2 separate regions of the Homo sapiens genome follow, and region 1 is linked to region 2. The links are contacts of gene promoters, found by promoter capture Hi-C in human tissues and cell types (Jung and others, 2019). All regions are on one chromosome and are shown on one strand. Each heading gives the region's core, a stretch centred on a gene start or on the middle of the fragment in contact. The rest is flanking DNA. Distances are from core to core; before and after follow the strand shown.

Region 1 (5,938 bases), core at 2,816-5,315, 300 kb before region 2:
AAGGAGGGAGGGATCCAGGAACAGGGCTCTGGTCCTTCTCCCATTTGGCCAGTGCACACATGCTGGTGATCCAAAGCAGTGGCAGATGTGGAGACCCCATGCTGTCTGCAGGTCCTCATCACCCCCCAACACCTGTCACATTCTCAAGTGCCTAGAATTTTCTTCCCCCCATGCTGGGGAGTAGCCAAAGGAAAGGAAGCACTCAGCCCAACTCCAAGCTGGAGAGCATCTTTCCATCTGCTCTCTTACTTCCCGCTTTGAAATTAAAAAATAAAAATCTCCTTGGGAGTTGCCTCTTGCCCACCACTGCCAAGGGCCAGCCATAGAGCTCAGTTTATGAAGTCACTTGGAAATGTGCATGTGTTAGAGCTTTTACCTTCCAGATGCAGAGACCTCCCCAAGCTACATAGAATTAGTCTTCCACTGTACGTAGGTGAAATTCCATTCCTGGAATGGAATTTGAGAGATGGGGCAGTGAATGGGGAAGTTAGAGAGGAGGAGAGAGAAGCTTTGGAATAGCCATTAACCAGCCTTGACTCTAGGCCTGGGTATCAGACCTGTCCCTGCTCCAAGAGTGAGGGAGGCAAAGGGTGGAACTGCCCCACCGTCTGCTTTTATACAGAGCATGTTTCCACCTTTAAAGACTACCTTTGAATTTCACCTGCATAAATATATTAGAAAGAGTAGGATTTTTGGAGTCTTTCTCTACCATGATGAAAGGCCTTGTATTAGTCTGTTCTGTCATTGCTATAAAGAAATACCTGAGACTGGGTAATTTACAAAGAAAAGAGGTTTAGTTGGCTCATGGTTCTTCAGGTGGTATAGGAAGCATGGCAGTATCAGCTTCTGGGGAGGCCTCAGGGAATTTTACTGATGGCAGAAGGGCAGGCATCTTCACATGGCCAGAGCAGGAGGAAGAGAGGTGAAGGGGAGGTGCCACATACTTTTAAATAACCAGATCTCACTATCGCGATGACAGCACCAAGGAGGATGATGTTAAACCATGAGAAACCACTCTCATGATCTAATCCCCTCCCACCAGGCCCCACCTAAAACATTGAGGATTACAATTTGACATGAGATTTGGGTGGGAACACAGATCCAAACCATATCAGGCCTATACCTGTTTATTAACAATAGTAGTAAAATAAGCTATTTCTCTCTCTCTTACTTCTAATGAGCCAACCAGCAAGAAAAGCCCAACTGCAAACTCTCTCTATAAACATATGAAACCTTGTCTTTCTGGAGGACTTTGAGGACTGGTCTTCTAGGTGGGTTGCTTCATAATCCTGTCCCTAGACAGGGAAATATGGTCCCTCCCCAGGTGGGAACCCTGGAATTTAGAAAACCTTTATCAAAAGAGCTTTTCCTTTTGCAGTTGTCTTGCAAACGTATTTGTGTTAATAGTCTTGAGAGTGATTGTGCCCAGCTAACCACAAAGGCATTCATTTCATCTTAATCAAATGGTTAAAACATATTAAAAGCCTGGTGCGGTGGCGCATGCCTACAGTCCCAGCTACTTGAGAGGGTGAGGTGGGAGGATTGCTTGACCCCAGGTATTGGAGGCTTCATTGTGCAATGACCATTTTTGTGAATAGCTACTGCACTCCAGCCTGGGCAACACAGTGAGACATTCTGGTCCTTAAAAAAAAAAAAAAAAAAAAAAACCCAAAACAAAATATATTAAAACAATCTCTTTTCCGGAAAGCCCTTACTCACTTTGTCTTTGTGATGTACTCCTTTCTGAAGACTCAGCTTAAACATCTCTGGTGTGAAAAACAAAACAAAACAAAACAAAAAACTCTTCCTCTGCCAGACTCAGCCTCTCATCTGTGCAGCAGTGTACACAGTAAGGGCTTCCCTCATAGCACTTACTGCACTGCGTTTCCAACTGGAAGTTTCCTAGAACAGGGACCATCTTCCTCTCATTGTATCTACAGGGTCCAGCACTATACACTGCTCATAGCTGAAGCTATGGATGAGTGCATGATAAATAAAAGTATGAATAAAAGCAGAGCTGCTATGAATATAGACAGTGCTATCCAATGACAGTAGCCACTAGCCGCATGTGACTATTTAAATTTAACTAAAATTAAAAATTCAGCTCTTCAGTCACACTAACCACATTATAAGTGTACAAGAGCTGCATGTGCCTAGCGGCCACTGTATTAAATGACACAGATTAAAGAACATTGCTATAATTGCAGAAAGTTCTATTGAACAGCACTGGACTACATTATGATGGGCCCAGCTGAAGTTATGCAGTGCGTGACCTGCACAACTGTTCAGAGTGGGCCTGTATGAATGAAGGACCTCTCTGTGTGCAGTACTGTGACCGCTGCTGTGCTAGCTGCTGATCAAAGAATTACACAGACATTTATAGTCTAAGACAGGCATGAGAACATCTGAAAACACATTGTAAAGAATGGCCTCTCGATGAGTAAATATGGGTCAAATGAAGTAAACAGACTATGCGTAGGTATCATCAAATATAGAGAGAATGAACAGACCGAAGAAGGGAAATACAAAGAGGTTTGACGTCCTCACAGCCTAAAAACTAGTGTCTGTTTCCCTTCTTGAAATGGACATTACTTGGCTAGAATTATTTCCTGGAGAAATAAACATATTAGACAGAAATAACCATGCTGGCTATTGAAATATAGCCAAAGAAAATATTTGTCTTCACGTAGCAACCACAGAAGGTCTCCATCATGGCAACCACTGATTTTTCTGGATAAGGTAAGATTTATGATGGTCTTTCTGTTGTTTTCAATAAACCATGGAAATGTCCTATCCATTGCAACATTTCAGCCTCTAAATTGTCTTTCTGACACTGCTTCTTGCACATAGCAAATGTCTGAAAATCTTTTGTCACAGAAAGTGTCTCAGTTTTCTTTTTTTAAGCTATTACCTACCAGAAGTACCTCAGCTTTCTATCAGGAAAATGTGGTCCCTGTACCTTGAGGGTCTTTTTCACTTCCTGTGGGTTATTATTTTATTCTGTTAAAGAAACTGTTAAGTCCAAATGGTTAAGGATGTCTCCTGCACTGGGCCAGACCCACCCAGCTGGGGAAAAGGAAAGGAGACTTCGCCTTCACTTTGTAGCAAGTCAGGGGTACTGTGCTCCAGTCTCTAGACCCTAGACCCCAGACCCCAGACTCCTCTGTTTCTATCCTGTCCTGCCCCTGCCTCCACCCCCAACACAATTTCTGCTGGCTGGCAGGATCAGCAGGAGTAGGGCATGGAGCCAGGAGGTCGCAGCTGAGAACCCAGCCTGTGGGCCTGGCCACCCCCAATTAGTTTATCTTATTAATGCCAATTTATTAGCACAGAACCCCTGGGAAGTGGGCTGGAGGAGTTGTCTGTTTAAAATAAGCTTTTATATTTCAGGTCTGCAAACTGCACACCTGAGAGGCCAGGCCCGAGGTGGGTGGCCTTCCTGCCTCCCACCTCCTCTGGGTAGACCTGGGAGAGTGGATCTGACAGTGGCAGATGGGATGGTGTATGCTTCTAAATACAAGATTTGTCACAGTTTTACATGTAATTGTGCAGGCTTCCTTTTAAGGGTCCTCTACGACTTCATTAGCAACAAAGAATTACTCTATTAAGCTTTATAAATAACATAGCCTTAATAATTAAATCTTGTTCCTTCTCAGGGCCCCAAGTGGACTCACTCCTTCAGTTCTTAGGTGTTAGGAGCTGCAGTAAATGATATTTTCCTTATATTTCCTTAGGGACTTTCTGACTTGTAATAAGTCCTCATCATTCACCCCCTCATTGAAGCTGGGACTGAAATAAGTGGTGCCATATCCTCTCAGACACAAGAGAGCATTTTAAACAAATTGATGAACAGTCATCATTTAAGGAAAATATTAAAAGTACCTGAGACATTTTCATGGGCCATAAGTTCCCTCTGCTACATACGAACCAAGTGCTATGACCAGGTGAATCCTACCTGCAAAGATGTAGGAGTGAGAGAAATGAAACCCCTTTTCTTATTCAGACTCAGCTTTAAAAAACTCCAAGAGCAAACAAAAGCTGCTCATCCATCCTTGCCCAGGAAGAACCTCTCCATGGATAAGCATTCGGCTATTGTGTGCGTTGGTGCATATTAGGGGGAGAATGAGTCCATCTGAATCAGTGGTGCGCTAGTAAATAGTTAACAACTGGTTCACTGGAAAGAAAAAAACCCCTGAGGTATAGCATTTTCTGATTTCTGTGATGTAAATTCCCCTGCCATGGTCAATCTCAAGATGACAACATGATGTCACTCAATGTGATGAAGGAGAGACCATTATATTACATTTCCACCATACAGCTACTATGAACGTAAATAACCTCAAGATCATAGATAATAGTAAAACACAGGAAAATCATTAGAAAATGATGGGTTTCGAGTTATTTCTACTTTTTCATTTAATGTAATTATTTAATTGTAAGTTTATATAATTTAATGTTTCCTGATGGCTGTCTCTCACAGCTGGCTTGCAAAGTTCCTGAAAATTTAACAATCAGCTCCTGTGAGCTGGCATAAGCTTGTTCCGGCACATTATTGCCCTGGAGCCACTCAGTCACATGTCTGTGTCCCTGTTGTTATTGCCACTTCCAGCTTAGAATTTCTGTGTCATAGCTTCCATGGCAACCTCATGATGCATGATGCGTTCTTAAAAAGTGGAAACCAGACATAGACACTGCTAGTGACCCAGCCATATCCACTTTAGAGCTGGTGCTGCCATCCCCCAGCTGCTGTGAGTGCTGCAGCTAATGGGGAAGGGGTCACACCTGTGTCCCTCCCTGAAGCCCTGATCCCACTTCAGGACCTGCCTCTCCCTGAGATGCGTGGAGGTTGCAGTTGCCAGTGATGACTTACAAGGGGCAAAAATCCCTTCCCCTTGCCTCAAGGATGACTATTCTTCGGAGGAGTTACACTCAGAGTATCTGTGAATCAGGCCAAAGTATGATGTGCCTTTACATGGACACATCCTGGCTTGGCAACTTCCTTTATCCTGCTTTTCACATTCCCTTCTTCAGTAAATATGCACCAAATTGAACTCAACATGAGCAAAGACAGTACCAAGGCTGACAAATAGGCCTGCGTTCAGGAGCAGTAAGATAGAAACCTGCAGTCACACAAGGTTGGGCTGGGCTTTGGCACCAGTCAAAAGGGTTTTAGCATTGGTCCGGTTGGCATCAAACACCCTGCTACAGGGCCTTTGGCTGGGATTGCTCTGGGGCCAACTTTTCTCTATTTCCATGCACTTCAACATGGGGTATCAGTGCTATAACAAGGGTTCTAGAACATGAAATATCTTCATGGATCATCATTTTGGCTCAGATTTAATGAGAACATGGGTAGAATGGGGAAAGTTTTGTAATCTAGCTAGAAGGTAATTTTATGTATTTGTATACTGAAATAATAATAGCTAACGCAAGTAGTGATTACCATATGCATGTCTCTAAGAACTTGATAACAGATAAAGCACATTGAATCATTACTACAATGTGATGAGAAAACCTAGGCTAAAGACAGGTTAAATATGTTACCCAAGGTCTCCTAGCTAGCAAACTGAAGAGCTGGATTTGAACCTATGTGGTATGGTTCCAAGTCTGTACTTTTTTTTTTTTTTTTTTTTGAGCTGGAGTCTTGCTCTGCTGCCCAGGCTGGAGTGCGGTGGTGTGATCTCAGTTTGCTGCAACCTCTGCCTCCTGGGTTCAAGCAATTCTTCTGCTTCAGTCTCCTGAGTAGCTTGAATTACATGCATGTGCCACCACACCCAGCTAATTTTTGTAGTTTTAGTAGAGACAGGGTTTCACCATGTTGGCCAGGCTTGTCTCTAACTGCTGACCTCAAGTGATCCATCTGCCTCCGTCTCCCAAAGTGCTGGGATTCCAGGTGTGAGCCATTGCGCCCAGCCTCAGAGTCTGTGCTTTTAACCAA
Region 2 (5,894 bases), core at 2,271-4,770:
TCCTTCTAGAATTCTAATTCATTCCTCAGTTGTATCCGTTCTGTTATTTATTCCATCTGTGATTCCATAACATTACAGATGGAATAAATTACAGAATAGATATAGATGTTTTGAGACAAGGTCTCACTCTGTCGCCCAGGCTGGACTGCAGTGCCGTGATCATGGCTTACTGCAACCTCAACCTCCCCAGCTCAAGCAAGCCTCCCACCTTAGCCTCTGGAGTAGCTGGGACTACAGGCGTGTACCACCTAATCCAGCTAGTTTTTTTAATGTTCCCCAGGCTAGTCTCAAATTCTGAGCTAAAGCAATCCTTTTCAGCCTCCCAAAGTGCTGGGATTACAGGCATGAGCCACCATGCCAGGCCAATGTTCTTTAATCCAACCACTGTATTTTTCTTTTTCATATACATATATTTTTTGAGACGGAGTTTCGCTCTTGTTGCCCAGGTTGGAGTGCAATGGAGCGATCCTGGTCCACCGCAACCTCCACCTCCTGGGTTCAAACGATTCTCCTGCCTCAGCCTCCCGAGTAGCTAGGATTACAGGCATGCACCATCACGCCCAGCTAACTTTAACTTTATATTTTTAGTAGAGACGCGGTTTCTTTTTGTTGGTCAGGCTGGTCTCGAACTCCCAACCAGGTGATCCGCCCACCTTGGCCCAGCCTGCCAAAAGCATTTTAAAAAGTAAAAAAATCCTATAGTGTCAGGCCCTGCTCAACAGCTTGCTATTGCTGTAAAGATAAACACGTGGTCTATCCCCTCAGCACATTTTCACTCTTATCTTGCACTGTTTAGTCGTATCTTGAGCCTCAGCCACCCTGATCTTTTAGTTTCTCAAACAGGGCCTTTGCACAAATCGTCCCTTCATTTGGAGCACTGTGAGTTTTGTACAAAACTGATTCATCCTAAACCTTCAAGTCTCAGGTTAAATGTCACCTCTTCAACAGTCATCACGAGATTCCAGGCCAGAAGCAGTGGCTCACACCTGTAATCCCAGCACTTTGGGAGGCCAAGGCAGGCAGATTGAGGCCAGGAGTTCAAGACCAGCCTGGCCAACATAATGAAAACCTCTCTCTACTGAAAATACAAAAATTAGCTGGGCGTGGTGGCACAACGCCTGTAATCCAGCTACTTGCGTGGCTGCGGCAGAAGAATAGCTTGAACCCAGAAGGCAGAGGTTGCAGTGAGCCAAGATCATACCACTTCACTCCAGTGGCAGGGGTAGGGGATGCTAAAGCCATCTGAGTGAAAGGTTGGGGTGGAAAGAAAACACGTGGAGTAGGCTGACCATTCCACCATCCCCAACCTTATCACTAAAAGAGGGTCATTCACACACCATATACTACTTGATTATGAAGCAACAAGAAACTAGCACAACACCTATTAAGTATTCCTGACCAAAAGATAAATAATCCAAATCTAGACCTACCTACTAACTGCAAGTTACTAGGGAAAATGGAGAGCAAGCAGTTAATAAGTCAAATCCAGAACGTAGGTGTTCTACAGGACCTGGGACGGCAGGGAAGATTAAAGTGGGAAGATTAAACTGGGAAGATTAAATCTTTAATTAAAGATTAACGATTGTTATAGAATCTTAAAAAACCAACTGCAGCCGGTGGCCTGTGCCTGTAGTCCCAGCTATTCCGGAGGGCTGAGGCAGGAGGATCCCTAGAGTCCAGGAGTTTCAGGCTGTAGTGTGCAATGATCACACCTGTGAATAGCCACTGCACTGCAGCCTGAGCACACAGTGAGACCTCATCTCTTTTTTTGAGACAGGCTCTCGCGCTGTCGCCTAAGCTAGAGTGCAGTAGCTCCATCCCGGCTTGCTGCAGCCTTTACCTCCTGGGATCAAGCAATCCTCCCACCTCAGTCTCTTGGGTAGCTGGGACTGGAAGCTCGCTCTATGACACTGATTTTTTTATTTTTTGCAGAGATGGGGCTCAGTTTGTTGCCTAGGCTGGTGTCGAACTCCGAGACTCAAGCAAACCTGCCCCCTTGGCCTCCCAAAGTGCTGGGATTAAAGGTGTGAGCCACTGGGCCTGGCCGAAATCCCATCTATTAAAAAAAAAATGTATGAGGAGAGAGAAGACTAAATCTAAACTGAGATACAGTAATACTTAACACCAAGAGGTTCCAAGTATCTTTGACAGATACTAGTTCCACGTGCCAACAGCACAGAGCTGCAGCATTTTCTCCGGGTGTTGCTTTTAAACTGTGGTTTTCGGCCGGGCACGGTGGCTCACGCCTGTAATCCCAACACTTTCGGAGGCCGAGGTGGGCGGATCACCTGAGGTCTGGAGTTCGAGAACAGCCTGGCCAACCTGGTGAAACCTCATCTCTAATAAAACACAAAATTAGCCAGGCGTGGTGGCGCACACCTGTAATCCCAGCGACCCGGGAGGCTGAGGCAGAAGAATCACTTGAACCCGTGAGGCAGAAGTTGCAGTGAGCCAAGATCGCGCCACTGCACGCCAGCCTGGGCAAAAAGAGCGAAACTCCACTCAAAAAAAACAAAAACAAAACAAAAACACAACCAAAAAAACCTGTGGTTTTCAAGCTTTAAGGTATACAAAAATCACTGGGAGGTGTGCTCATTAAAATATATTTCTCTGAGCCCCATCTCGATACTGTCTGTAGGTTTCAGTGTGGCCCCAAAACGAACATTTTTTCTTTTTTTTTTTTTGAGACGGAATCTCCCTCTGTAGCCCAAGCTGGAGTGCAGTGGCGCGATCTCGACTCACTGCAACCCCCGCCCACGGATTCAAGTGATTCTCCTGCCTCAGCCTCCCGAGTAGCTAGGATTACAGGCATGCGCCACCACACACATCTAATATTTTTGTATTTTTACTAGAGACGGGGTTTCACCAGGTTGGCCAGGTTGGTCTCGAACTCCTGTCCTCAGGTAGATCCACCCACCTCGGCCTCCTGAAGTGCTGGGATTACAGGCGTGAGCCACCGCGCCAAGCCAAAACAAGCATTTTCAAACAAGCACTCAAGTGCCTCTAAGGTAGACTGTCCGCAGACCTAAAAACTAACTTAAAAACTTAAGACACGTCAATGTCATTCTACCCGGTTCCCTCTCTCCCACCTCCTTTCTCCAAATTGCCTCAACAGTCCTCAAATGTTGTGTCCAGTTAAACTCAATCCAACTACGTCGACTTTAGGTTTGTCACCTGTTGGCCAAAGTTACTTCACGTCACCCCACCTCCACTTTTATCTTCCGCGAGCCCTCATCCCACAACTCTTCCCCTCCCCCCGAGCCCTTCTTCCGCCTGGCGCGGCCTTCCCCACGCCGCCCGACCCACCTCTCAAGCTCCTCCCGCCCGCTACCCGCACAACTGGCGGTACGGCCGCCTGCTCCTCACTCTCCAGCTCCCGCTCCCGGCACCCCGCCGACGAAGGCCAAGAGCCACACCTTACGGCAGCTCCATGAGTCGCTCCCCCGCCGAGCCCGGGTGGGGGGAGGGGTGGCAGTCACAGATCCTAGGGCCTCGGCAGCATTTTGAAATGGCGAGTAATGAAGCCGCAACTTCCGGCCTCCCACACGGCCTCACACGAGGGCTTCCGGTGAGGCCTCCGGAAACCATAGATGGAGCAATGGGAGGACTAGAGAGCTAGAAAGGCTGAGCTCACTACCATAGAGTAGATCCTAGTCCGGGGAGAGAGTCGTGGGGCCCGAACGGTTGAAAGTCGTCAGATTTGAAGAGATAATAAGTGAGGGACTTGCAGGGTCTTGTGATATTTACAGACGTGTATTAGGAGATCAGAAAACAGAGAAGAGGAAGAGCTAAGGTCATAATCACAGGCTGCCTTCAGCTCTTCGGAAAAACTACGCTTCCTCTGCCATTCCCCAGTCCTCACCCTTACTCCCCAAGGGTGGTAGGGAAGGGAAACGGAGCGATGGCGGCACTAGGGTGGCAAGGAAGCTTGAAGCCATGTCAAATAAATAGTTGAAAGCACCAGCCGCTGTGGCTCACGCCTGTAATCCCAGCACTTTGGGAGGCCTAAGGCAGGCGGATCACCTGAGGTCAGGAGTTCGAGACCAGTCTGACCAATATGGTGAAACCCTGTTTCTACTAAAAATACAAAATTAGTCGGGTGTGGTGGCGCATGCCTGTAATCCCAGCTACTCAGGAGAATCGTTTGAACTTGGGAGGCGGAGGTTGCAGTGAGCCGAGATAGCGCCATTCCAGCCTGGGCAACAAGAGCGAAACTCCTCAAAAAAAAAAAAAAAAAAGAAAAAGAAATAGTTGAAGGCTCAAGGGAGTTTTTAACCTGCATATAAACGAGGGAGGCCGGGCGCAGTGGCTCTCCCCTGTAATCCCAGCGCACTTTGGGAGGCCGAGGCGGGCGGATCACCTGAGGTCAGCAGTTCGAGACCATCCTGCCCAACATGGCGAAACCCCCGTTTCTACTAAAAATACAAAAAATTAGCGGGGCATGGTGGCGGTCACCTGTAATCCCAGCTACTTAGGAGGCCGAGGCAGGAGAATCGTTTGAACCCGGGTGGCGGAGGTTGCAGTGAGCCGAGATAGCGCCATTGCACTCCAGCCTGGGCGACAAGAGCGAAACTGCATCTCAAAAAAAAAAAAAAAAAAAAAGAGGGAAAGGGTTGAGCATAGAAATTGGAAGCTGTCTTCAAATAACTGAATAGTATAATATTGGAAATAACGGAGCCTTATTCTCTTCTCCAAAGTGCAGAACTAAAACCAATAGAAATTACAAGGCAGTATTTTTAAGCTCAGAAAATCCTCTAACATTTAGAGTTGTTCTGAAATAAATGAAATTAGGTATTTGGGGGAAGTAATGTCATTTGAAGACAGCCTGCCTGAGAGGTTTGTTGAAAGCTCTTCTATATTAGGAAACATTAAAACTGGCTGTGTAACCCAAGAAAGCTCCATCTCAGTGTTCTTTGCACCTGTCTTTTAGCATTTACCACGTATTTTTTTTTTAGTTATTTGTGTATATACCATTCTTATCTCTCCCAATAAGCAACAACAAAACCTGGCTCCCAATGCTAGATACAGACCCATGCAAAAGAACACAGGGCAGTAACCTTCCTTAAATTTGTACATTCCGCTTTGTTCTACTTCTAGCATAACCTCCTGCATAGCTGGGAGATCCAGGGTTCCATTAAGGAGCTGAAGAATTAACTTCTTTTTCATAGAAATCTGCAACCACCTCACTCACAAAAAAAAAAAAAAAAAGGTCAAGGGTGCTTTTTTAGGTGAACCACTGTCAACTATTTCCCCTGTCCTTTTGTGCAATTAGTATTTTTTAAAACTTTCAACAGGAATTTTTTTTTTGTAACTTTTAAATAGCATCTGGTTAGTTTGGATCCTTTCCTAATGTCTCCTGGAGCCTTGGAATATGATCTGTTCATGCAATTCAGTTTGTGTGAGATCAACAGGTATTTGTTGAGGCCAGGTGCAGTGGCTCACACCTGTAATCCCAACCCTTTGGGAGGCCAAGGTGGGAGGATCGTTTAAGCCCAGGAGTTCAAGACCAGCCTGGGCAAGAAAGCGAGAACACCATCTCTACAAAAAAAAAAAAAAAAAAAAAAAAAAAAAAATTAATTAGCTGAGCATCCTACTTGTGCCAAGCACCAATCTAGAGGATTCCAAAACAAGACCTGAAATCTGTCTAGTGGAGGAATCAGACTGTCCAGGTAAAAAGAATGTGGTAAGTGCAATGATTGATGAGCTGCAGTTAACCTCCTCTAGGTTAAGAGAGATAAGCCTTTTCAATTTGGGCAAAATATTGACCAACATCTTTAATTCGTCTTCATTTAAAATCTCGAGGGCCCGGCGCAGTGGCTTATGCCTGTAATCCCAGCACTTTGGGAGGTCGAGGCAGGTGGATCACGTGAGGTCAGAAGTTCGAGACTAGCCTG

The links. Contacts are between HindIII fragments. The study calls those that stand out against the background at their distance.
Region 1: a fragment that was not itself captured here is called in contact with the fragment with the promoter of MDM4 in region 2 in 1 of the 25 tissues and cell types used here (dorsolateral prefrontal cortex).

The regions. Positions count from the first base shown.
Region 1 is chr1:204,818,363-204,824,300 of GRCh38, reverse strand. No RefSeq gene overlaps it. Among named protein-coding and RNA genes, the nearest start is that of NFASC, 7.3 kb to the left of the region's middle. The HindIII fragment of the contact is 4,246 bases long and covers 1,943-5,938 here.
Region 2 is chr1:204,514,032-204,519,925 of GRCh38, reverse strand. MDM4 (MDM4 regulator of p53) reads right to left here and starts at 3,520. Exons shown (of 11, transcript NM_002393.5): 1 at 3,417-3,520. RefSeq lists enhancers at 3,248-3,527, 3,558-3,637, 3,648-3,777, 3,216-4,126, 3,067-4,266 and 1 more. The HindIII fragment of the contact is 11,632 bases long and covers 1-5,894 here.